Regions from separate parts of the Homo sapiens genome. Here all the other regions are linked to region 2. The links are contacts of gene promoters, found by promoter capture Hi-C in human tissues and cell types (Jung and others, 2019). All regions are on one chromosome and are shown on one strand. Each heading gives the region's core, a stretch centred on a gene start or on the middle of the fragment in contact. The rest is flanking DNA. Distances are from core to core; before and after follow the strand shown. Region 1 holds the start of ZNF528 (zinc finger protein 528). Region 2 overlaps ZNF525 (zinc finger protein 525). Region 3 holds the start of CNOT3 (CCR4-NOT transcription complex subunit 3).

Region 1 (3,821 bases), core at 997-3,496, 980 kb before region 2:
ATTCATGCATTCTGCTCCCCAAGGCTCAGGAAAACCACCCAGTGCAGATGCAGTCTCTCTGTATGTGTTCAACTTGCATCACAGCTGTGGGAGGCTGGAAGGCGGCCCATCCTGGGTTTCATGCTCCAGGGATGCATGGCACGTTGGCCTAAAGCAACAAAGGGGATCCTGTTCTGGGGATCTGGAACACATCCTGTCCTTTTCTCACCGGTCCCTTCCTCTCAGGATGTTGCTTTTCCAGCACATTCTATATTCATTCTTGGGAACTACAAGTGAGAAGTCAGATGCAACTGGGCCAATTCAACCCCACTTGAATGCTGTCCTGCAGTCTCTCCGCCAATCCAGATATCCCTTTTATTTTTATATTTTTTGAGACGGAGTCTCGCTCTGTCTCCCAGGCTGGAGTGCAGTGGCGCAATCTTGGCTTACTGCACCTCCACCTCCCAGATTCAAGCAATTCTTGTGTCTCAGCCTCTCGAGTAGCTGGGACTACAGGCGTGTGCCACCATGCCTGGCTAATTTTTTTTTTTTTTTTTTTTGTATTTTTAGTAGAGACTTCGTTTCACCATGTTAACCAGGCTGGTCTCTAATTCCCGACCTCAGGTGATCTGCCCTCCTCGGCCTCCCAAAGTATTGGGATTACAGGCGTGAGCCACCACGCCTGGCCCAGATATCCCCTTTAATAAAGCTAGTCCATTTACATGTGCACTGACCTCCCTGGATCTGGAGGTAGAGGCTGGTCTCAGGAGATTGAAGTAATACCTCGACTGGCAGAATCTCAGGGCAACATCATTGAGGTACAGCCAGTTGCATTTCACTAGGCTCAAGAGGATTGCTGCCTCAAGCAGGATAACCAGGCCTGCCTGGAGCAGTGCCGTAGTCCAGGATCCCAGTGACCTAGGTGAGAAGTTGGTACTCAGATCAAAGAAAAGTTCTTCAGGTGACCCCACTGTCTGCAGCCAATGGGCCTGCTTGTGGGCCTTATGTATTTGTGTTTCAAAAATAACCTGAGGGCTTGATGTGGGGGTCCTTATCTCCCATGCAAGGTGATTCATGCCTATAATCCGAGCACTTTGGTAGGAGCAGATGGGAAGACTGCTTGAGGCTAGAAGCTGGAGACCAGCCTGGGCAACAAAACCAGACTACATCTCTATTAAAAACAAAGCAACAAACAGTAGAAAATTAGCACAGTGGAGAGGCACAGGCCTTTACTCACAGCTACTCGGCAGGCTGAGACAGGGGGTCACCTGCCCAGGACCCCAGGAAGTCAAGGTTGCAGTGAGCTATGATTGCGCCACTGCATTTCAGCCTCGGTGGCAGAGACCCTGTCTTAAAATTTTAAAAAGTATTAAAAAACTAAGTTGGACCGGGCGTGGTGGCTACTCTGGAGGCTGGGGCAAGAGAATCACTTGAACCCAGGAGGCGGAGGTTACAGTGAGCTGAGTGCCTGCCACTGTACTCCCGCCTGGGGGACAGAGGGAGACGCTGTCTCAAAACAACAACAACAACAAAAAACTACGTCGTTTATGGCTATTTTTATAAGTTACTGGCTTTTTTTTTTTAAAGAATCGGTGACTTATCTTCACACTGGCCTTAGTCCTCCATGCCCAACACGATGTCCCTAGGAAAGTCTCTGGAATTGAGCACAGGGTTGACCTTCACCGTCTAGAGTGAATGGGGAAGATAAATGAAAAGTATTTATCTTCTATGGGCACTGGCATGAAATAGAACATTCTACCCTGGCAGGGTTTTGCATTTCACATTTTAGCTTGCATCATCCCCTTCACAGACAATTCCAAAGTGTGTTAATTCAATTCCTAAAGCTTCCCTTCCCTTCCTCCCTTCCCTTCCCTCCTTACTTTTCTTTCTTGTCCATTTATTTTCGGTTTTTTTCTCTTTCTTTCTTGGTTTTCTTTCTCTTTTTCAACTTCTCTTTCTTTTCTCTTTCTCTTTACTCTCTCTCTTCTCTCTCTTTCTGCTTCCAGGGTAGGTGGGACTTGAAATTCATTTTAATAGAAGGAATTTTCGTGGATATAATCTACAACCGATTTTGCTCTGCGCAGGTAAGATCCGTTTTCAGACCAAAACCCTGAAAACAAGCGCAGCCAGTCAAGCGAACGGAAGCGCAGGCCCGGCCCAGGCTTTGTCCCGGCCCGCCCTGGTCCCAGCCAGTCCGGCCTCTAGGATGCGCGCGCAATTTCGTGCAAACCCGGAAGCGGACCGCGGGGGGCGAACGCCTAGAGCGCAGTTTCCGGTAGACCCGGAAGCCGATTGCAGGGAGAAACTGTTTTCGCAGCAGTGCGTGAGTTTCCCTTTGTCTATGTTAAGTCTAGGCTAGCCAGTTCTTCTCTGCTTCTATACCCGGGAGCTGAGGGGCATGCAGACCTTGAAATCCCGGCACCGCTCCCTCCACCCCGAGTAAATTCAGACATCCTTTGAGAGTCTGGGAGTCGCTTTCTGCGTGTTAAAATCGCTTGGAGGCTGGTCGTGTGCCCGGTCTTTTTGTCATTTACCCACGTAGACACCTCCTATCGTGGGGTTTACCTGCTTCAAATCCTTTAGTAACCCCTACACACGCCCCGCACCACGTAAAATCCTCACTCTCCGTTCCCCTAGCCTCGCCCTTCTTTGCCCCTAGAGCTCAGCGCCCCAACAGGGCACGAGAGGCCTCGTCCTCTGCCCAGACCTGGTTTCTGCAGACTCCACCCCTCTCCTGACCCACTCCTGCCTTTTTGCTCCTTAATCTGGACCCTCTGTTCCCCAGGCCTCCCTTTTCCAGCCACCGGTTCTCCTGACCCCGAGTGTGGGGGGTGACTTCAGTCTCCTGACATCCAGTGTTCTCTCGAGCCAGTTTCCAGCCCACAGAAAATGAGCTCTTCCGGAAGTGGGCATCTTATTCCAATCCCCTCCCTGTGAATGTGTGGAGAAAAAGAGATGGGAACGAGGCAGAGGAAATAGAGAAATTTTGAAAGAGAAATGAAGAATGAGAGACCCATTAACAGAAGGCAAAGTAGAAGGTGAGTGAGGGGTTTGCAGAGGCACAGTGAAAGAAGGTGCCGAGAAAATAGCAGGGGAGAAAAGTAACTGTAAAAATATAGACAAACCTGGGTCTGTAGAAAGACGAAATTCAACAAGATAGGGAAGGCTTCTCAGACAGAGGGGGGAGAGGAGGAGGGATTTGGAGCCAGGTCAGACAGAGCAGCGTGGTGCTGGGACAGCCAGAGGGGGCAGCTGGTCACAAGGAGAACAGGGAGAACCACAGCAGGGGGAGGCCTGGGATCTAAGGGTGCCAGAGAGTGGGGACAGGGGTGTGTAATATCGAAGATGGAATTTAACAGGGAGACCCCAAGGGGAGCTGAGATGTGGGAGGAAAGAGGCAGAAATATATGGAGATTAGGGACAATGAAAGATTGGGCAGAAAGAGGAATAAGAGGTGAAACAAGTTGTAAAAATGGATCAGAACAGGTGGGAGAGAAGGAATAGAGGGAAGAATGGGACAAAGAGAAGAGGAGGGACTCAAAATGAACAGAATCCTAGGGGAAAATAGAGAAAAAAAGAGCTAGGAAAAAAGATGAGAATGAGAGATATGTACAGAATGAGGCAGGGAAACAGTAGTGAGGAAAGAGGGGGACCCTGGTTACAGATGAGTGGTGAGTTGATTGGAAATTATGATTGAATTGTGACATATTAATTTTTCTATAATATAAAATTTGTTTAGAACACATGAGGCTAGGAGCTGTGGCTCACACGTGTAATCCCAGTACTTTGGGAAGCTGAGGTGAGCGGATCACTTGAGGTCAGGAGTTGAGACCAGCCTGGCC
Region 2 (3,702 bases), core at 664-3,163:
TACACATTCTATGTTTTATATTTTATGCATAGTGAACTAGATACATAGGGCAATGTATATATATATATAGAATTGCTGTATTGCCTGGCTGTTTCATAAATGTAGTTGTGACATCATAATTGCACCCTCCGGCACTATTAGTCAATTCTTTTTTTTTTTCTTAGAGACGAAGTCTCACCCTGTCACTCAAGCTGGAGTGCAGTGGTGGGACCTTGGCTCACCACAAACTCTACCTCCTGGGTTCAAACGATTCTCTTGCCTCAGCCTTCTGAGTAGCTGAGATTACAGGCACCCGCCACCACACCCAGCTAATTTTTTTGTATTTTTAGTAGAGTTATGGTTTCACCACGTTGGCCAGGCTATTCTTGAACTCCTGACCTCATGGTCTTCCCACCTCGGCCTCCCAAAGTGCTGGAATTACAGGCATGAGCCACTGCACCCGGCTGTTAGTGAATTCTTATTCATTATAATGCTGCATATTTTTTTGACCTCATACATCAGAAGGTAGTGATCTTAACATGTATTTCAGTTCTTATATTGTGTGCTGGTGGTAAGTAGAAGTTGTGCTTTTTTCTTAACAGGGAATTGTTTAGAATTCTGCAGTTTGTATAAATGTACTTATGATTTGCTTGCTGGTTTTATGCGTTACAGTTATTTTACCAATTCATTTTTATGATTTTACATAAAGCTTTTCGGTATGTGGTATGCAATATAACTGACACAGTTTACTAGTTAATGTCACAAAGTGCCAGCGGGTGCTGTGGCTCACGCCTGCAATCCCAGGACTTTGGGAGGCTGAGGCGGGTGGATCACTTGAGGTCAAAAGTTCAAGGCCAGCCTGGCCAATATGATGTAACCCTATCTCTACTAAAAATACAAAAATTAGCCAAGCATGCTGGCATGTGCCTGTAATCCCATGTACTCAGGAGGCTGAGGCAGGAGAATGGCTTGAACCCAAAAGGTGGAGGTTGCAGTGAGCTGAGATCAGGCCATTGCCCTCCAGCCTGTTGTGACACAGTGAAACATTGTCTCAAAAATACAAAAATAAAAAAAAAATTTTAAATGTTACAATATGCCTTTTCTGCATGGATATAGGTAATTTTATGACAGTTATTCAGAAAAATATTTTTTTTTTTTTGAGATGGAGTCTCACTTTGTCATCCAGGCTGAAGTACAGTGGTGCGATCTCGGCTCACTGCAACCTCTGCCTCTTGGGTTCAAGCAATTCTTGTACCTCACCCTTGCGAGTAGCTGGGAGTACAGACGTGCACCACCATGCCTTGCTAAATTTTGTAAACTTTTCTTATCTTCTCAGTGCTATGATTATTTAACAATACAGAATTTCCATTGATTTTGGTTATCCTTACATGAGCTTGCTGTGGATTATTTACCAGTATATTATATTGTGTGGTCCTTTAGTATTTATTTGTATACAGTAAGTATGCTGTAAATATGAAGAATATATACTTTTCATTGATGTGACAGTGATATGTCTTTTGCAAACTGTTAGACACTTTAGGGTCACAGTGGAAAAATACTCCTTATTTTAGGCTTACACATGTTTGTGCCCTTCAGTGTTTTGTCATGATATTGGAAATAAGCTTTCATAATAATAATTTGAAGCACATGTAATCGCCCTTTATTTATTAAAGAATCTTACGATTTTGTGTTCCTAAACTTTGAAGATCATGTTTGGGAAGTTTAAAATCAGTATTGTCTTTTGTGTACCTATTAGTGTTTATATTTTGTAGGTATCTCTTCCAAATGCACAATGAAGGAGTTCTCATCAACAGCACAAGGCAATACAGAAGTGATCCACACAGGGACATTGCAAAGACATGAACGTCATCACATTGGAGATTTTTCCTTCCAGGAAATTGAGAAAGATATTCATAACTTTGAGTTTCAGTGGCAAGAAGATGAAAGAAATGGCCATGAAGCACCCATGACAAAAATCAAAAAATTGATGGGTAGTACAGAGCAATATGATCACAGGCATGCTGGAAACAAGCCTATTAAATATCAGCTTGGATCAAGCTTTCATTCACATCTGTCTGAACTCCACATATTTCAGCCCAAAGGGAAAATTAATAATCAAGTGGAGAAGTCTATCAACGATGCTTCCTCGGTTTCAACAGCCCAAAGAATTTCTTGTAGGCCCAAAACCCATATATCTAATAACTATGGGGATAATTTTCTGAATTATTCATTACTCACACAAAGACAGGAAGTACGCATGAGAGAAAAATCTTTCCAATGTATTGAGAGTGGCAAAGCCTTTAATTATAGCTCACTCTTAAGGAAACATCAGATTATTCATCTAGGAGAGAAACAATATAAATGTGATGTATGTGACAAGGTCTTTATTCGGAAGCGATACCTTGCACGCCATCGTAGATGTCACACTGGTGAGAAACCTTACAAGTGTAATGAGTGTGGCAAGTCCTTCAGTCAGATGTCATCCCTTACATATCATCATCGACTTCATACTGGAGAGAAACCTTACAAATGTGAAGAATGTGACAAAGCTTTCAGACACAATTCAGCCCTTCAAAGACATAGGAGAATTCATACTGGAGAGAAACCACATAAGTGTAATGAGTGTGGCAAGACCTTTAGTCAGAAGTCATACCTTGCATGCCATCGTAGCATTCATACTGGAAAGAAACCTTACGAATGTGAAGAATGTGACAAAGCTTTCAGTTTCAAATCAAACCTTGAAAGTCATAGGATAACTCATACTGGAGAGAAACCATACAAGTGTAATGATTGTGGCAAGACCTTCAGTCATATGTCAACCCTTACATGCCATCGTAGACTTCATACTGGAGAGAAACCTTACAAGTGTGAAGAATGTGATGAAGCTTTCCGTTTCAAATCAAGTCTTGAAAGACATAGGAGAATTCATAATGGAGAGAAACTGTACAAATGTAATGAGTGTGGCAAGACCTTCAGTCAGGAGTTATCCCTTACCTGCCATTGTAGACTTCATAGTGGAGAGAAACCTTGCAAGTGTGGAGAATGTGACAAGGCTTACAGTTTCAAATAAAATCTTGAAATACGTCAGAAAATTCATACTGGAGAGAAATGTTATAAGTGTAATGATTGTGGCAAGATCTTCAGTCATACGTCATCCATTGTATACCATCATAAATTTCATAGTGGAGAGAAACCTTACAAATGTGAAGAATGTGATGAAGCTTTCAGTTTCAAATCAAACCTTGAAAGACATAGGAGAATTCACACTGGTGAGAAACCTTACAGGTGTAATAGGTGTGGCAAGACCTTCAGTCATACATCATCCCTTACATGCCATCATAGACTTCATACTGGAGAGAAACCTTACAAATGTGAAGAATGTGATGAAACTTTCAGATACAAATCAAATCTTGAAAGACATAGGAGAATTCATAATGGAGAGAAACCGTACAAGTGTAATGAGTGTGGCAAGACCTTCAGTCAGAAGTCATGCCTTACACGCCATCATAGACTTCATACTGGAAATAAATCTTATAAGTGTAATGAGTGTGGCAAGACCTTCAGTAAGGAGTTAACACATGCCATCATAGACGTCATACTGGAGAGAAACCTTAGAAGTGCAATGAGTGTGGCAAAACCTTTCATAGGCAGTCAGCGCTTATTTACCATCAAGCAATCCATGGCAGAGGGAAACTTTACAAATGTAATGATTGTCACCACGTC
Region 3 (3,538 bases), core at 377-2,876, 760 kb after region 2:
ACAGTTTGAATAGCAAAGCTCTAGAACAATAACTCTAGGCTTCATTCCCGTTGTCTGTGTGTGGGCCTACGAATATGCATTTTCGCAAGCATTCCTCCTCCCCCTTGCCTCAGACCATTCTGATGCGGGTGGTGCTGAACGGCTCCATCCTCCTTCACGTTCACCTCTCCCTGGGATTTATCTTACTTTCCACCACCTAGACAGGAAGGGGCGAATCTGGCTTCCCATCTCGGTTGTGTGACCCTGGGCAAATGCCTCCCAGTTCGTGGAAGTCTCAGTGTCTAGTTAAGTTTTCAATCACAAGTCATTCCTCACATTCATTCATCTATTCCTTTGACAAATGGTTACTGACTACTTCCTGCGTGCTAAGTGCTGGAGATGCAAAATCCAGACAGGGAAACCGAATAATTACGAAAATGACGGTAGACGTACAAAAATAAATCCTAACGAACAAGGCGCGCAGGAGCGCTCCGCCCGGGAGGGAGGTCAGGGAAGTTTTCTCTCCAAGAAGACAACAGAGCTGAGACCTGAAACGAGCAGGCATTAGGGAGCCACCCGTCTCCTCTGTACCTTCTGCAGCGTCCTCAACACACTAAGGAAGCGGAGACGCAGAGGAGAATGACTGTCCCACCATCTGGTCGCCTAACCAGGCAGGGGCAGGACAAAAACTCCATGCCTCACGCTTCCCAACCAATTCTGCTATGCACGGTGCCAGAGACTTAAAGCAGTGTCTCTGGTCCCTTTCTTCTTTCACTCAGCAAATAATGAATTTCAGAGATGTGCCAACATAGAGGCACTTGGAGAAAGACGAGGCAGCTGAGAGGGAAGCTGCTTACCTGGCCGGGACGCAACGGTTGCGACCAAGTCCCACTTCTGCCAGCTACATACACCCTCTTTCACACGCTCTACGAGCAGCTACCGCCCACTCGCCACGCTATTGGTCCAACTAGCATGAATGATAACTTTTAGGGCCAACGAAGAAAAAGGGGTGGACTTTCTTGCCCAGCTCCTCCCACTTGGCCCTGTGGCTGTTTTGATTGGCAGATGACTTCGGCTCGGCCCCCGCTTTAAAGGCACCTGTCTGTCTCCCATTAGGTACGCGGCCCCTAACGCCCACACTCCATGCCTTCCTCCGCTTTCCCCACCCACTTCCAGGACCAACCAATGACTTCAAGGCAGAATATGCCCCCGCAACCAATTAAAAAGAGCTCTAAACTTGACGGACGACTTCCCGCCCCTGGACTGTCGTAGCTCCTCCCCCAGACCAATTGTTTTAAGAGAGGGGGGCGGATACATCCAATCAGCACGACACAGGTCTCTTGATTGACGTTCGGGTCCTCGCGCTGGCGTGTTGTGCCCTGAGGCGGGAGGAGGAGGAGGAGCGGGGAGGAAAACCTGAGCCAATCCTAGCAGCCTGCGCGGGAGGCCAATCGAACGCCGCGCCTTGGAGCGATCACCCAATCCGCGAAAGGGGGCAGGGCGCATCCCTGCCAGGAACCAATAGAAAGCCTCCAAGGGTCAGGAGCGACGTTCAGCGGGAGCAATGACTGGCCTATATTCGGGACTCGGGGGCGGGTCGGCGCCAGAGACGAGAAGAGAGGAGGGGAGGCCTCCTCCGCCGCCGCCATCTTGGACCGGGCCCGGTCAGCTTCCGCGGAGCCATCGGCAGACGCCGCGGCCTCCCTTGAGCCCCGACCCCCGTCGTCAGAACAACCCCGGGCCCACTCCCCCAACCCCACTTCCGCTTCGCGCCGCTATCGCGATAGCGCCCGGGCCCGGGGCGCGAGAAAAAGGCGGCGGGCGCTCGCCTCCCCCGCCTGTCGCGATACGCTCCTCAGCGGCGGCGCCAGCTCCTGTGGTGAGAGCGTCAGGCTCGACTGGGCCGGACCCCTTCCCTTCCTCCCCCCGGCGCCATCGGCCGCCCTCCCCGCCGCCTCCCGCCCTGGCGACACCGCCGTCTGTCGCGACATGGCCTCCCCTCGCCTGCCCCCTGCCGCCGCCTCTGCAGCGCGGGGCTCCCGGCGGGGGGCGGCTCCCTCCCTCTCGCCCTCCCGTTCCTGCGCCTCTTTCACGTTCCTCAGCGCCTCCCGGGGGTCCTTCCGCGACCCGGACCCCGGGCCCCGCCCGCCGCCGCCTCCCCGCGTGGCATCGCGTCGGGCCCCCCGGTAGGGGTGTGAGGGTGCGAAGCCTCCCGGGCGCGAGGTGCCCGCCCCTCTCCGCGTCGGTATTGGCTCCTGGCTGGAAGGATGGAGGCGCCCCTGGTCCCAGGTGCCCGCCCTCTCGGGGCTCAGGTGCCTGCCCCCCTCGGCCTCGGTCCTTCGCGTTGTGGGGCAGCCTCCGCGCCGGGGCTTCTCCCTCGACGGTGGCGGGGAGGGGGGGTGGTGGTCGGGACGAGGACCCCAGCTGGGTGGGGGAGTCACCCTTCCCAGGACCGAGGCCGCCCTCCGCATCCCTCCTCACTGCTCCCGGGAGCGCAGCCTCCCCTGGATCTCAGGTTCCAGCTGCCCGTCTGTATCGGATGGGAGCCTCTTGGGAGAGGAGTGGAGGAGAAACTCCCCGTTAGTTGGAGCCTTTGCCGAAGTTTCCACCTCTGTAGTCTGCAGCTCTTCCCTCTCATAGCGAGTAGCGCCCTGGGTGGCTCCAGCCTCGCCATCCCGCTGCACTGGGCGCCTGCCTTTTTGGGGGAGTTTGGCTTTCCCCCACCTGGGGTACAGGACCGTCCTCAGTGTGGCCCACGTCTGGTCTCAGCTCTCACACTTCTTTGATCCTGGCGTCTGCCCCTGGCTTTGCAGCCTTGAACTCCCCTGCATCGTGACTCTCCGACCTTCTGGGTGTGGGCGTCTCCCAGTGATATCAGGACCACTGTGGTCTTGTTGCTGGGGGCTGCTGGGATCCCCTGGCGCTCAGGTGCCTGGTGAAAGACACTAAGCCGCCACGCTGTCCATGTTAGTGAGCTCCCACTGCGGGCAGCACCAGCCCCTCTTTCTGAGCAGTCCCTGCCTCTCAGTGCAGGGCGGCCACCCACCCCGGGGTGAGCTCTCCTGTCCTTTTGGTGAGGGGTTTTGATGTCTCCCCTCCCTCCCTTCACCCCTGCCTGAGTATGAGGCTTCTTCCATCTTCACACCAGTCTCCTCCTTTAGGGTGTCAGCTCTCCAAGGACCAAGAAGCCCACTGCCCTTGATATTTGCATCAGATCCCACACTGTGGGTTTGTTGACTTCCCATCTACCCTTACGCTGGGTGTCAGCAGTTGGAGAACAAGGGTTTCGCCTTCTGGCCCCGCTGCTGGTACCCCATGAGAGTAGGAAGCTTCCTAGACCCGGGTTCCTGTACTGCGAGGTGGGGGCTCTTCCCTCTGGGGCTGTGCCTTCTCTCCAGGGTAAGGACCCTTTCTTGGTGTCACCTCCCCCAGGGATAAGGTTCTTGCCATCCTTGGTATTGGTATGGCTGCTTTTCTGGATTTGAGGTGTCCACGCCTCTGCATGTGTCCCCACCGTAAGGCTGAGGACCCCTCTCGGATGCAGGTGCCCCCGGCTAAT

Evidence for each region. Contacts are between HindIII fragments. The study calls those that stand out against the background at their distance.
Region 1: a contact is called between the fragment with the promoter of ZNF528 here and a fragment that was not itself captured in region 2, in 3 of the 25 tissues and cell types used here (adrenal gland, dorsolateral prefrontal cortex and thymus).
Region 3: a contact is called between the fragment with the promoter of CNOT3 here and a fragment that was not itself captured in region 2, in 4 of the 25 tissues and cell types used here (dorsolateral prefrontal cortex, lymphoblastoid cells, ovary and 1 more).

The regions. Positions count from the first base shown.
Region 1 is chr19:52,395,603-52,399,423 of GRCh38, forward strand. It overlaps ZNF528 (zinc finger protein 528), which reads left to right and starts at 2,247. Exons shown (of 7, transcript NM_032423.3): 1 at 2,247-2,302; 2 at 2,765-3,017. It overlaps ZNF528-AS1 (ZNF528 antisense RNA 1), which reads right to left and starts at 2,155. Exons shown (of 7, transcript NR_125345.1): 1 at 1,860-2,155; 2 at 1,593-1,665; 3 at 1,008-1,150; 4 at 763-897; 5 at 1-148. It also overlaps a transcript of ZNF880 not described here. RefSeq lists an enhancer at 1,559-2,758. The HindIII fragment of the contact is 17,909 bases long and covers 1-3,821 here.
Region 2 is chr19:53,378,971-53,382,672 of GRCh38, forward strand. It overlaps ZNF525 (zinc finger protein 525), which reads left to right. Exons shown (of 4, transcript NM_001348156.2): 4 at 1,752-3,702. The coding sequence ends at 3,049. Among named protein-coding and RNA genes, the nearest start is that of ZNF765, 14 kb to the right of the region's middle. The HindIII fragment of the contact is 5,110 bases long and covers 1-3,702 here.
Region 3 is chr19:54,136,136-54,139,673 of GRCh38, forward strand. CNOT3 (CCR4-NOT transcription complex subunit 3) reads left to right here and starts at 1,627. Exons shown (of 18, transcript NM_014516.4): 1 at 1,627-1,858. The HindIII fragment of the contact is 23,783 bases long and covers 1-3,538 here.